Linked DNA regions of Homo sapiens: regions 1, 3 and 4 are each linked to region 2. Evidence: promoter capture Hi-C in 16 types of primary human blood cells and fetal thymus (Javierre and others, 2016). All regions are on one chromosome and are shown on one strand. The core of a region is centred on a gene start or on the middle of the fragment in contact, and the rest is flanking DNA. Distances in the headings are between cores, read along the strand shown. Region 1 has its middle 28 kb from the start of CHST14. Region 2 holds the start of PLCB2 (phospholipase C beta 2). Region 3 holds the start of BUB1B (BUB1 mitotic checkpoint serine/threonine kinase B). Region 4 overlaps BMF (Bcl2 modifying factor).

What was found. Contacts are between HindIII fragments. The CHiCAGO score rates a contact against its expected background, and 5 or more counts as called.
Region 1: a fragment that was not itself captured here is called in contact with the fragment with the promoter of PLCB2 in region 2 in 1 of 17 cell types (M2 macrophages); the score reaches 5.2 in M2 macrophages.
Region 3: the fragment with the promoter of BUB1B here is called in contact with the fragment with the promoter of PLCB2 in region 2 in 1 of 17 cell types (naive CD8 T cells); the score reaches 5.2 in naive CD8 T cells.
Region 4: a fragment that was not itself captured here is called in contact with the fragment with the promoter of PLCB2 in region 2 in 2 of 17 cell types (M2 macrophages and M0 macrophages); the score reaches 6.4 in M2 macrophages.

What each region holds. Positions count from the first base shown.
Region 1 is chr15:40,497,447-40,500,219 of GRCh38, forward strand. No RefSeq gene overlaps it. Among named protein-coding and RNA genes, the nearest start is that of CHST14, 28 kb to the left of the region's middle. The HindIII fragment of the contact is 5,436 bases long and covers 1-2,773 here.
Region 2 is chr15:40,306,641-40,309,526 of GRCh38, forward strand. It overlaps PLCB2 (phospholipase C beta 2), which reads right to left and starts at 1,295. Exons shown (of 32, transcript NM_004573.3): 1 at 949-1,295. The coding sequence starts at 1,032. The HindIII fragment of the contact is 15,701 bases long and covers 1-2,886 here.
Region 3 is chr15:40,159,784-40,162,483 of GRCh38, forward strand. It overlaps BUB1B (BUB1 mitotic checkpoint serine/threonine kinase B), which reads left to right and starts at 1,286. Exons shown (of 23, transcript NM_001211.6): 1 at 1,286-1,472. The coding sequence starts at 1,438. RefSeq lists enhancers at 1,420-1,519, 1,540-1,669, 1,677-2,441. The HindIII fragment of the contact is 2,113 bases long and covers 82-2,194 here.
Region 4 is chr15:40,095,321-40,098,166 of GRCh38, forward strand. All of the region lies in intron 4 of BMF (Bcl2 modifying factor), which reads right to left. Among named protein-coding and RNA genes, the nearest start is that of BMF, 12 kb to the right of the region's middle. RefSeq lists enhancers at 1,383-1,432, 2,106-2,619 and a silencer at 2,816-2,846. The HindIII fragment of the contact is 9,484 bases long and covers 1-2,846 here.

The DNA.
Region 1 (2,773 bases), core at 171-2,670, 190 kb after region 2:
GGCCCCTCCTCTCCACTGGGCTGACTCTGCCAACTCACTCTCACCTGAAACTGCCCTTGCTGCTCCTGCCTCTGCCATGTCTACCACTCTGTATAGCTGCCCTTTTCTTACTGCTGTGGCCTCTGGCTGCCAAAAAGAGACAGGGCCACTACCCTGGCCCTCATGACATTCAACTGCAGCTGCCATCTCTGCTAATGTGAGAGGAGGGATGGTTTCTCCACTGACATCAAGCCCAGCTCTCTTGAGTCTGGGCCAGACCTTGAATAGTCTGGCTTGTGAACGAGACACCAGCTAGTTCTTCCAGATGGTGTTCATGTGGCCCAGCGCTCTCCTACCTTAGGACGAGTTCCTGCCCACCCAGCTTGCTTCTCTCAGAAGTTTGGGGCAGCATTTTTCTACCTTTCTTATTTAGGATCCCAACCTTTTTTTTGAGACGGAGTCTCGCTCTGTCACCCAGGCTGGAGTGCAGTGGTGTGATCTCGGCTCACTGGAACTTCCACATCCCAGGTTGAAGTGATTCTCCTGCCTCAGCCTCACAAGTAGCTGGGACTTCAGGGGTGTGCTACCACACCTGGCTAATTTTTGTATTTCCAGTAGAGACGGGGTTTCACCATGTTGGCCAGGCTGGTCTCGAACTCCTGACCTCAGGTGATCCACCCGCCTTGGCCTCCCAAAATGCTGGGATTACAGGCGTGAGCCACTGCGCCTGGCCCCCAGAGCCCAACCTTGAATCCCAGCATCCTCTCTGCCATTTCCCAAGACACCCAGTGGGCCTCTGGATAAAAGACGTTTTTGATAGAGAGTTCTGTTATCCCAGACCCCGAGGTGACCCTAGCATAATCCCTGGACACTCCCCTATGCTGAGGCTTCTCCCCTAGACCCCCATTCTATTACATAGTCTGTGCCCCCTCAGCTCAGTCATTACTTTTCTGGGCAGCCTCCTTTGACCTGCAGACCAGATCAGATCTCTGTGGTTTGCTCCCTGATCACTGTGTCCTTCTCCTCTGTAGCTCTTACCACAGCTTGTAATTCTATATTTGATGCATGTCTATATCCCCCTCTATAAGGTGAGGTCATCAAAGGCAGCAGTTCTGTCTTTCTTGCCTACCACTGCATCTCCAGCATGCTGCTCATCTGGTCCGTGGTAGGGTTCAGTATTTGTTGAAGGAGTGAATGAACTATGATTCACTTCATTACGTGTCGGTCTTTTAAAAACATTTATCTTCAATACACCCGTTTCTCTGTGATGGCAAGTAAAACATTTTTGGAGGCAGTCACTAACCAGCATGCATTGCATGTGTGAGCACCACAATATTTTTATACTTGTGGGTTCGATAATCCAACCACATGCTTTATTAAAGTATTTCTTTCAGGGTTGTAAAAAACACTTCATTACTGGCTTGCGGGCAACCTGGCTCTGGGGGAAAAGGGTCGTGTTACCACACTGCAGATAGGTGAGGATACCAGTGCCAGGCAGGGAGGAGGCTGTGAGGATGCCCAGCCCCTGCTTAGGGATACTGCTTCCCCCCCTTCACTTTTGCAGATTGCAGAGGGCTTGAAGAAGGGATGCAGGCAGTTTGAGCACTGAGTGGCACGTATTCCTGCAATCCCCAAAGTCATGAGGGGGCTCTTTGGAGGGGGTCTCAGAATTGGACTGTATGGTTTGATTTCACGTATTTCTGGGTTTGCTTTGTAGTTTGTCAAGTCATCATACTGTATGCTACTGGCAGATGATAATATGTTAACCAAAAACGACAACAAAGCAGTTGTGATGCGAAGGATGAGGCTAGACTTGGAGTCAGAACCATCATCCAGTACATTGGTTCTTGGCACATAGTGAGAAAGAACCCTTGTGGAATGGAAGGAGAAGCTCCTGGGAAGCAGCGTGTGAAGGTGGAAAGGGTCTTGTTGCCAAGGCAATAACCATTCACTTCCATGGAGCACTGGCCAGGGGCAGGTGCTGTGCTGAGCACTTTGCATGCATGATCCCATTTAACCCCACAGTAATCTATGAGGTTTTTTTTTTTCTTTCTCTTTTTTCTTTTTTAGAGACAGGGTCTTTGTCACCCAAGCTGGAATGCAGTGGTGTGATGATAGCTCATGTGGTCTCAAACTCCTGGGCTCAAATCATCCTCCCACCTCAGCCTCCCGAGTAACTGGGACTACACGTGTATGTCATCATGTCCAGCTAAGTTTTTTGTTTTTTGGGGTTTTTTTCTGAGACAGAGTCTTACTCTGTCACCCAGGCTGGAGTGAAGTGGTGTGATCTCGGCTCACTGCAACCTCTACCTTCTGGGTTCAAGCAATTCTCCTGTCTCAGCCTCACAAAAAGCTGGAATTACAGGCGTGCACCATCACACCTGGCTAATTTTTAAATTTTTAGTAGAGACGGGGTTTCACCATGTTGGCCAGGCTGGTCTCCAACTCCTGACCTCAGGTGATCCGCCCATCTCAGCCTCCCAAAGTGCTGGGATTACAGGCGTGAGCCACCGCGCCCAGCCTTTTTTTAAAAATTATTGTAGAGACAGGTCTTGCTATGTTGCCCAGGCCGGTCTCAAACTCCTGGGCACAAGTGATTCTCCTGCTTCAGCCTTCTGAGTCCCTGGGATTACAGATGAGAACCACTCACCTGGCCAATTAGGGTTCTTATCAACATTTTCCATAATGAAACCATGTGTCAGAGTGAAAAAATGTGCCTGAGGTAACACAGCTAATAAATGTCAGAGCCAGGATTTGAAGCTAGTTCTGTTGGACTTGACATCAATCCACGTAA
Region 2 (2,886 bases), core at 45-2,544:
CCCTAGCCTAGCCCAGCCCCGAAGGGCCTAGACCCAGACCCCCTCATCCCACCTCCCATCAGGTGGACAAGTCAGCACTAAGGGCTGTCTTCCCTCCCCCACCAAGCCTTCATTTCCCTTCCTGGGACAAGCCCAGCACTCTAACTCTCAGACTGGGCGAGCCCAGCAGCCTCCCCTCCCTGAAGGAGAATCTCCATATTGTTCTCTCCAGCCTAAGAGAATCCCTGGCCTAAGGTAACATTTTCAGGGGCCAGGAGAACCAGAGCCTGGGAGCAGCCCCGTGTAGGAAGGAACAGACACAGCAGAGAGAGGGCTGCAGGGTGCAGCAGTGTCTTCCCCTTCCCTTGCTGACAGGCCTGCATCGGGGAGCAATGCTGAGCCCAGCAAGGGGTAGCAGAAGTCAAATCAGCTCCTTCCCTGGGAGCAGAAGCCTCTAGTTCTCACTTAGGTCCAGGGGCCTTTTGTGGCTGCCCCCACAGCAGCGCAGGGGAGAGCAAGGCTTCCCTGGACAGGATGATGCCCAGTGGAGGGGGTGAAGGAGCTGGGTCTGAGCGCCCTGCCGGAGCAAGGGCAAGACATCTGTGCTGGGAGCGGGGACGAGCTCACCTCTCCTCCTAGCCTGCCTCAGCTCTGGGGTGCACTTTCCTCCTCTTCTCTTGGGGGTTTGAAGGAGAAGAGAAGCAGACCCAAATAAACTACCTCCAGTGACCACCCAGGCAGCTCACCCACTTCTCACACCTAGAACCAAGGCTTAGCCCTTTAGCTGGGGACATACACCCTTAATCCCAGGTTTGTTTATCCAAGCAGTGGTGTCAGCTGCCTGGCCAAACCACACAGGCGCCTGGATCCTAGGAGACATAAACCAATCCTCCCACCCAAGCAAAGCCCCGTAGCAGCCCGGCCCCCACCACCTGGTGCTCCAGCAGCTGAGGCCCCTGCCCCACTTACATCATCCCATTTGATGAAGCGCTCCCCTTGGCTCAGATAGGCCTTCACCTTGGGGGGCAGCAGGACAGGGTTGAGCAGAGACATGGTGCCAAGCGTTCCTCTTTGCAGAATCTCAGCAGACACAGGCAGGCAGAAGGGCAGGAAGGAGGCCAGCCAGGAGGGGGAGCCAAGCTGGGCTCAAATGGCACCCATCCCCGAGCTGCTCCAGAAATCTAGTTGCTCTTATAGCCCCTGGGGTGGCCCTGGCTGAGTGCAGGACTGAGCTGTAGCCAGAGGCCCATCTGCCTTGTAAATCACCCTCCTCCCACCCGCCCTGCCTGCCATGGGGGCCTGTGGTCACTGCTTCTGCCCAAGGAGGCTGAAGCAGGAAGCCCCCGCCTCTTCTGGAGGCCCCCGCCCCCACCCCCAGCCCCACCCTGTGCCTCTCAGCACTTCCTGCTCTGGGCTTCCTTCTCTGCGCTGCTCACAGCGGAGACGTGGTCATGAGGCCGGGTCGCCTTGGAGCCAGGGCCTCTCAGTCCCTGTGGTGGTCTCTGGTCAGATTTGGCCCAGGAGGGCTGGAGAAGGACGACATGGAGACCAGCTGGGGAGACTGCTGCCCAGGCCTGGACTGAGGGAAGGCACAGGGAGCTCACTAGGAGAAAGGACCTCCTCAGGGGAAGGGTCCAGAGCATGGGCATCTGACCCCAAAGGTTGGGAGCACCGTAGAGGCAGGGGTGGGGTGGGGACAGGGCCCAGCTGGAATGGAGTGTTTTGAATAAGCAAAGTTTGCTGAACACACGGCTCCTCTTTCTCAATGCTTCCTCCCCCATGAAAATGAGGTGCACCTGCCGGGCGGGCGGGTGCGGTGGCTCACGCCTGTAATCCTAGCACTTTGGGAGGCCGAGGCGGGCGGATCACGAGGTCAGGAGATCGAGACCATCCTGGCTAACACGGTGAAACCCTGTCTCTACTAAAAATGCAAAAAATTAGCTGGGCGTGGCAGCGGCGCCTGTAGTCCCAGCTACTCGGGAGGCTGAGGCAGGAGAATGGCATGAACCCAGGAGGCGGAGCTTGCAATGAGCCGAGATGGCGCCACTGCACTCCAGCCTGGGCGACAGAGCAAGACTCCATCTCGAAAAAAATAAAAAAAGAAAGAAAATGAGGGGCACATGAGGCAAGGCAATCACTCCCCTCACCCACCTCACCAGACTCCCACCTCTGGGCCTCTGGGACTGCCTGAGGCCTGGACCCCCACTGAGCAGCCCTAGCCCCTGCCTCCACTGCGCTCTCCTCTCTCCTCCGTGTGCCCGCCTCTGCTGTGTACCCCAGCCTGCAGCGGGGCTGGGGCGGAGGGATGGCTGCTCTGGTTGGCCAGGCTCAGCCCCAGCTGCTCAGGTGCCTGACCCACACTCTGCCCCAGGCCCAGGGAGTTCAGCACCAGTCCAGCTCAGCCCAGCCCACTTCCTCTTGCCTAATCTGCTCCTCTTATCGCCCTTCTTAGCCCAGCCTGGGAGGCAGGGAGCTCTACCCAAGACTTCCTTCCCCTCTGGGGCCTGGCCTTTTGCCCTGGGTCACCCCCCCATGGGGCTTTGCATACCCCCAACAACGGTAAGACCCTCACCCAGGCCCTAGAATTGTCGCGGCTGGAGGTCTGGTCCAGGGCAGGGTGGAGGGTGAGGGAGGACACTCTTCATGCGGAATTAAGATAATAAACTGCCCAGTGGAGGCTGGAGCTAAGGGAATTCCCAGCACAGAAATAATCTGCAGAAGAGCAATTCTAGGGCCGGGGGATGGAGCCGGAGCAGGGCCTGACCAAGCCTCTGGAAATGGTAACAATTCAGAGGACTCTTCTTCCTCGTTTCCCCCAGTCCCTTAGCGTCATCTCTCCTCTCTCCCTCCCTCCAGTCTGGGGCCCTTCTGGGGGCCCCTCTGGCAGCCCATGCTGTTCTGGGTTCC
Region 3 (2,700 bases), core at 36-2,535, 150 kb before region 2:
CAATGGAGAATGACAATAAGCCAACAACAAGAGTAGAGGCGAGAAATGGAGAGAGGCCCAGTCCACATGAGTCCTGGGTTAAGCTTTATCTGAAGTCTTTTATATATAAAAGACAGTAAATTCCCTTTTCTGAGTAGGCCGATTTAAGTTGGATTTCTACTTCTTTGGAATCAAGAGTCCTGATGATTCAGAGGAAAGAAGGACTTATATAACATGAACAAAGACAGAAAGCTGGGAACTAAGAACCAGAGGGTAGTGGACAGTATCCTCAGCATCTGCCTCTGGGAAGTGCCACCTCTCTGACCATCCCCACAGTCATAAAGGAGAACTCCCCTGTACCTGGGCTTTCTTAAATGACCCTGTTCCTTCCTCAAGGTGGCTAATGCCTGTAATCGCAGCTACTGCGGAGGCTGAGGTGGGAGGATCACTTGACCCCGGGAGTTGGAGGCTGGAATGCAGTAGCCCCATGATGGGGCTACTGCACTCCAGCCTGGGCAACAGAGCAAGAAGAAGACCCTGTCTCTAAAACAAAACCAACCAACCAAACAAACAAAAAGACTCTACTCCCCTGGTCACATCTGAGCTATCACAATTTCTTCCTCAGAAAATTGAAATTGCAACAAACAGTTTAATGTCAGTCAAGGCTAGTCCCCTGAAGGGGAAAAGAGGTAACACCTTGGGAACCATAGCATGGCTGTGTTTACTGCTTGTGGACTGAGCAGAAGAGAAAGCAAGACAGTATCATCACTTTATAGATGAGGAAAACTGATGGTCAGAAAGATTATGTAGCTTGCCTAAGGTTGCACATTTGGTATGATTTTACAGAACTAGAATCCAGCTTTTTGAATTCAAGGGTGGGGCAGGAAACAGCTAGGTCAGTGGCCTAAGAACTCCGGACGGGTGAGATTTGGGGCAGACAGCAGGGGTAGTCACCCTACAAGAGTCACGCCAAGTGCAAGCACTCAGAGACATCTCCCAACACTCAAAACAGCAAAGAAGTTCTGGTGCTTTAAGTGTTCCTCGCTCGGCTCAGAGACTCGGCTTCGAGCCGCGACTCAAGACAGCACCTGGGGGTATTTGTTTTGCCTAAGCCTGCTGCACTTCCACGGCCATTGAATCCCAAAAACTACAATTCCCATTATGCACCGCGAGTTCGCGGACTAAACAGGCATAAACTACAAGCCCCAGAATGCCTTGGGCGAGACGCGAGAGCACGGAGGAGCGGAGGGGCGTGGCCACGTCGACCGCGCGGGACCGTTAAATTTGAAACTTGGCGGCTAGGGGTGTGGGCTTGAGGTGGCCGGTTTGTTAGGGAGTCGTGTACGTGCCTTGGTCGCTTCTGTAGCTCCGAGGGCAGGTTGCGGAAGAAAGCCCAGGCGGTCTGTGGCCCAGAGGAAAGGCCTGCAGCAGGACGAGGACCTGAGCCAGGAATGCAGGATGGCGGCGGTGAAGAAGGAAGGGGGTGCTCTGAGGTAGGTACGGGAGAAAGCTGCTGGGGGCTGGGCCTGAGAGGACACGGCCTGGTAGGTAATAGAAGGCTCCGCTCGGAGCAGTCGAGGGGGAGATCGGCACCGTCAGAACAGACCCCACCGGAGCCTCCTTCCTTTTGGAGTAGAATGCCGGAGGTGGAGGTGAAAACGCAGTGGACTGAGGGCACGTGCGAATCCTGCCGCATCCAGCTTCAAAGCGAAGAAGGCTGCGGGACCCCAGCGGAACAAAGAGTTTGGAAGTTGCAATGTTGTCTGTTTGTAACTCAGCTCAGCCACCTGCTAGTTGTTTGACCTTGGGCAAATCGTTTGTATGGAAAATGCTGATGTTAATGCTGCCTTACGTGGTTCTGGGGGAATTCAAAGTATTTGTTAAGTAACTGCTTCCAAATAAGCGCTCAACAAATGGCAGGTGCTATGCCAATAGCACAGAGATCTGAAAGCCTTTAGCCAATATCATAGAGATCTAAATTATGCCAATAACATAGAGATCTAAAAGCCTTTTTCTGCATGTTTGCGGCTTTTCCTTGTATTAAAAAAACTATATTGCAGTTCTAGGTTGGAAATCTGTATGTGTTTTCACTGTGGTGCCCGCAATACCTAGATAAGTGCTATGTCATGGGCTCTTTCATTCATGTAACAAGTATTTTTTTGGCTAAGCTCTGAGTGCAGCAAATATACAGACACAAAAATCTCAACCCTCATGAAGCTTAAGTTCTGGCATGGGATGAAGGTGGGGGAGTCAGACAATAAAGACAAACTGTTAGGTGGAGATGTGGTCAGTACTAAAAAAAATAATAAAGCAACTGGGTGTAGTGAATATTGGGGGTGGGGATTGGTGCAATTTAACTTGAACACTGGAGTCTCACTGAGGAGATGTCACTTTGGTCAAGACTTGAAGGAATCTCAAAAGCTAGAGGTTCTATATCTGAGGAGAGTACAAAGGCTGAGGGTGAGAGCTAGGGGAGGAAGTTGCACCTGGCATGTCCAAGGCCATTGTCACTGGAGCAGAATTAACTAGAAGAGTAAAAGGATATTATGTAAAAATGGTGAAGATGCAGATTGTAAGGACTTAGCTTTTACTCTAGTTGTAATCAAAAGTCATTGGAAGGTTTTGAGCAAAGGAAAGACATAATCTGACTTGGGTTTAAATGGGGTCACTTTGGCTGTAGTGTTGAATACACTAAAGGCAGCAAAGGATGGAAGCAAGGGA
Region 4 (2,846 bases), core at 324-2,823, 210 kb before region 2:
AAAAGACTTGAAGGGAGGCCAGTGGGAGAAACAGTGAGGAGGAAGGAAGTTGGCCTTCACTGAACAGGATGAAGAACACAAAGATACCAAAACACCAGAGAACGTGGGATCTTCCACAAGAGGGTGTGGAGGAGAAGGGGAAGAGAGGGGAACCAGGAATGAGTGTACTTGGCCTCTGACCCTCAGGCACCCGGCACAGCACCCAGCGCACAATCTGAGATCAACAAGGGCAGATCCCCAGAACCAGGCCTGCCCTCCTAGACTCAGCTAGGGAACCCCTCACAGAATGGGAGTTCCCAGAATACACAGTCAGGGTGACCCAAGGGTCGGGGCTGGGATACAGAGGAGGGGAAGCTCACCCTAGAGCCCTCGGACTCACATGGTTTAGAAGGCAGGGCCAAGGAATGGAGGGAATGAATAGAGGTGAATGCCCCCAGGGAAGGTGCCCTAACATGGTAGATCACGGTGTTCTCTTCAATGAAGAGAGCACAAGCAGGCATCAGAGCCCCATGCGGCTTCTTTGGCCCAGCCTCATTTTCTTGCCACGGACAGGGGATGAAGGCAGTCAGCTGACAAATGTTTCAATCCCTACTGTGTGCAACACCCTATGCCTGAATGCACAGCTGCTCATCCTGTGTAATGGGGAACATGGAAGGCATACAGTAGGCACTCAACAAGGGCATGCTGGACCGACTACAGAGGAGTCAGCCCTGAAAGATAACCCACTTGTCTGAGGCCAGGAACAACTGATGTCTGGCCAGGTCTAAAGATGTACTTTATGTGATAGTATCAGCCTCACACCTGGGGAGAGGCCCAACTAGTAAAAGGCCTCCTTTTTTTTTTTTTTTTTTTTTTTTCTCTAAAGAGCTGGCTGTGGTGTCTGACAAGGTTGGATTACATAAATCAAACTCTGTTTCATCCCACACAGCCTCTGCCCTAAGCACAAAGCGTGTTCCCTACGCTCCCTGGATAAGAATCTCCCTCTGCCTCTCCCCTTTTCAGATCCAATTCATACCCTCTGGGGGCTCTGTGTGTCACCAGTGTTCCAGATGCTCCAGCTAGAGCTAATTCACCCCAAAGTATCAGAGGAAGAAGCAAAGCGAAGCCGTGTGCAGCTCTAAAAGAACCTAACTCACAAAATGCAAATTTACCAAACAGAGAGCAACTTATAATATCTCAGATACAGAACAGAGCACTTTCCTTTCTTCTCATGTGATCCTCACGATAGGAAGAGCAGGTATTAATCAACCCATTTTAGAGCGACGGAAACAATGGCTCAGAAAAGTCATCCCAAGTTAGTTGGGAGGGGTGTAATTTGAGGCCCTGACTTCTGACTCCAAAGCTATGTTCCTTCACTAAAATTTTACAGTGTGTTTATTGACATTATGAAAATAGCATTACCTTTTTCAAAGCAAATCACCACTGATCTGCTCCCCTAGTATGCTTAAAGACATTGTTTCCAGATCATTAACTATTTAGTAAGGACGCTGTGGACCAGAAAAAAATAACCCTTTCAGAGGCAGAGCTAACTGAAGATCAAACAGAAATAAAGCTAAAACTGGTCTGAAATTATAACTTCAGACTGTGATCTGAAACCACACTCAATCTCTTCAAAATGCAGAATTGTCTATACTCTAGGGGAAGGTGCACAGTCCACGATGTGAAGTTTTCCTCCCTCTTCCCTTTTCCCTGTCATTCTCTAAACCTACTCAGGCCAAGGCTGAAAGAAAGAGCCTTGCAATTAAGAACAGGAACATTGAGAGCAGGAAAATTCCTGCTTGAAGGAAGCTAGGAAGATGTTTTCTGTTGAAATAAGGACATTTTAATGAAGCACCCAACTGAGCTATCAAGCACCCAACTGAGCTACCAAGCACCCAACTGAGCTACCAAGCACCCAACTGAGCTACCAAGCACCTAACTGAGCTACCAAACACCTGAGCTACCAAGCACCCAACTGAGCTACCAAGCACCTAACTGAGCTACCAAGCACCCAACTGAGCTACTAAGCACCCAACTGAGCTAAGAGTTATGTGGATACAAAGATGATTAAAATATTATAAACTTGGTTCTCAATTGTTTTACAATATAATGGGGAGAAGAGCAAGAGCACCTAGCTGAGTATCACATGAGGCAGAGCGGGTTGGGGCAGCAAATGTGTGCTTCCTTGTACCCTTGTTTTCCGGAATGTGATTGCTGGGCAGCAGGTATGGGGCGATTGGACCATGGTTCCAGAATCCATCAAATCTGTATGACGCCTAGCTCAGCAAATTACGGTGTGACTTGGACATGTTACCTCACTTCTCTGAGCCTCAGTTTCCTATAACACAGTGGCAATGGAGTCTAAAAGTCCAAGGTTGCTGTGGTGATTACGTAAGAAAAATATACATGAAGCACTGGGCCTGGGGGCTGCAAGGAGCAGGCTCCTCCTTCCCTGGGGAGCACAAGGAAAACCTGGGACTCACTGGCTTTGCAGAGCACGTCTCTCAATATGCTCTGCAACAGGGCCGGCCTGGGGAGCACCATCTTCCCGGCAGACTCACGAAATCCCTGGGAGATCCCTGACTTTCTGCTTTGAGACTGCCCACAGCAGCCACAGGCCATGGGGCTCAGGATTCTAGGCTGCCAGGGTAAGCCAAGGATTCTGAAACCCAGAGGGCAACCCCTTGGACCCAGTGGGCCCACTGCCTCAGACTGCTTCTGACCCAGAGGCCCGAGGAACGAGCAACGTGGCAAAACGGAAAAGGAAAAAAAAGACTCCTTGCCAAGAGCTTCCTCAGCCCAGCCAGCAGTGTTAACAGGACATTGAAGCCACCATGGCCACGCCCATTGCTTCTCTAAGGAAAAAA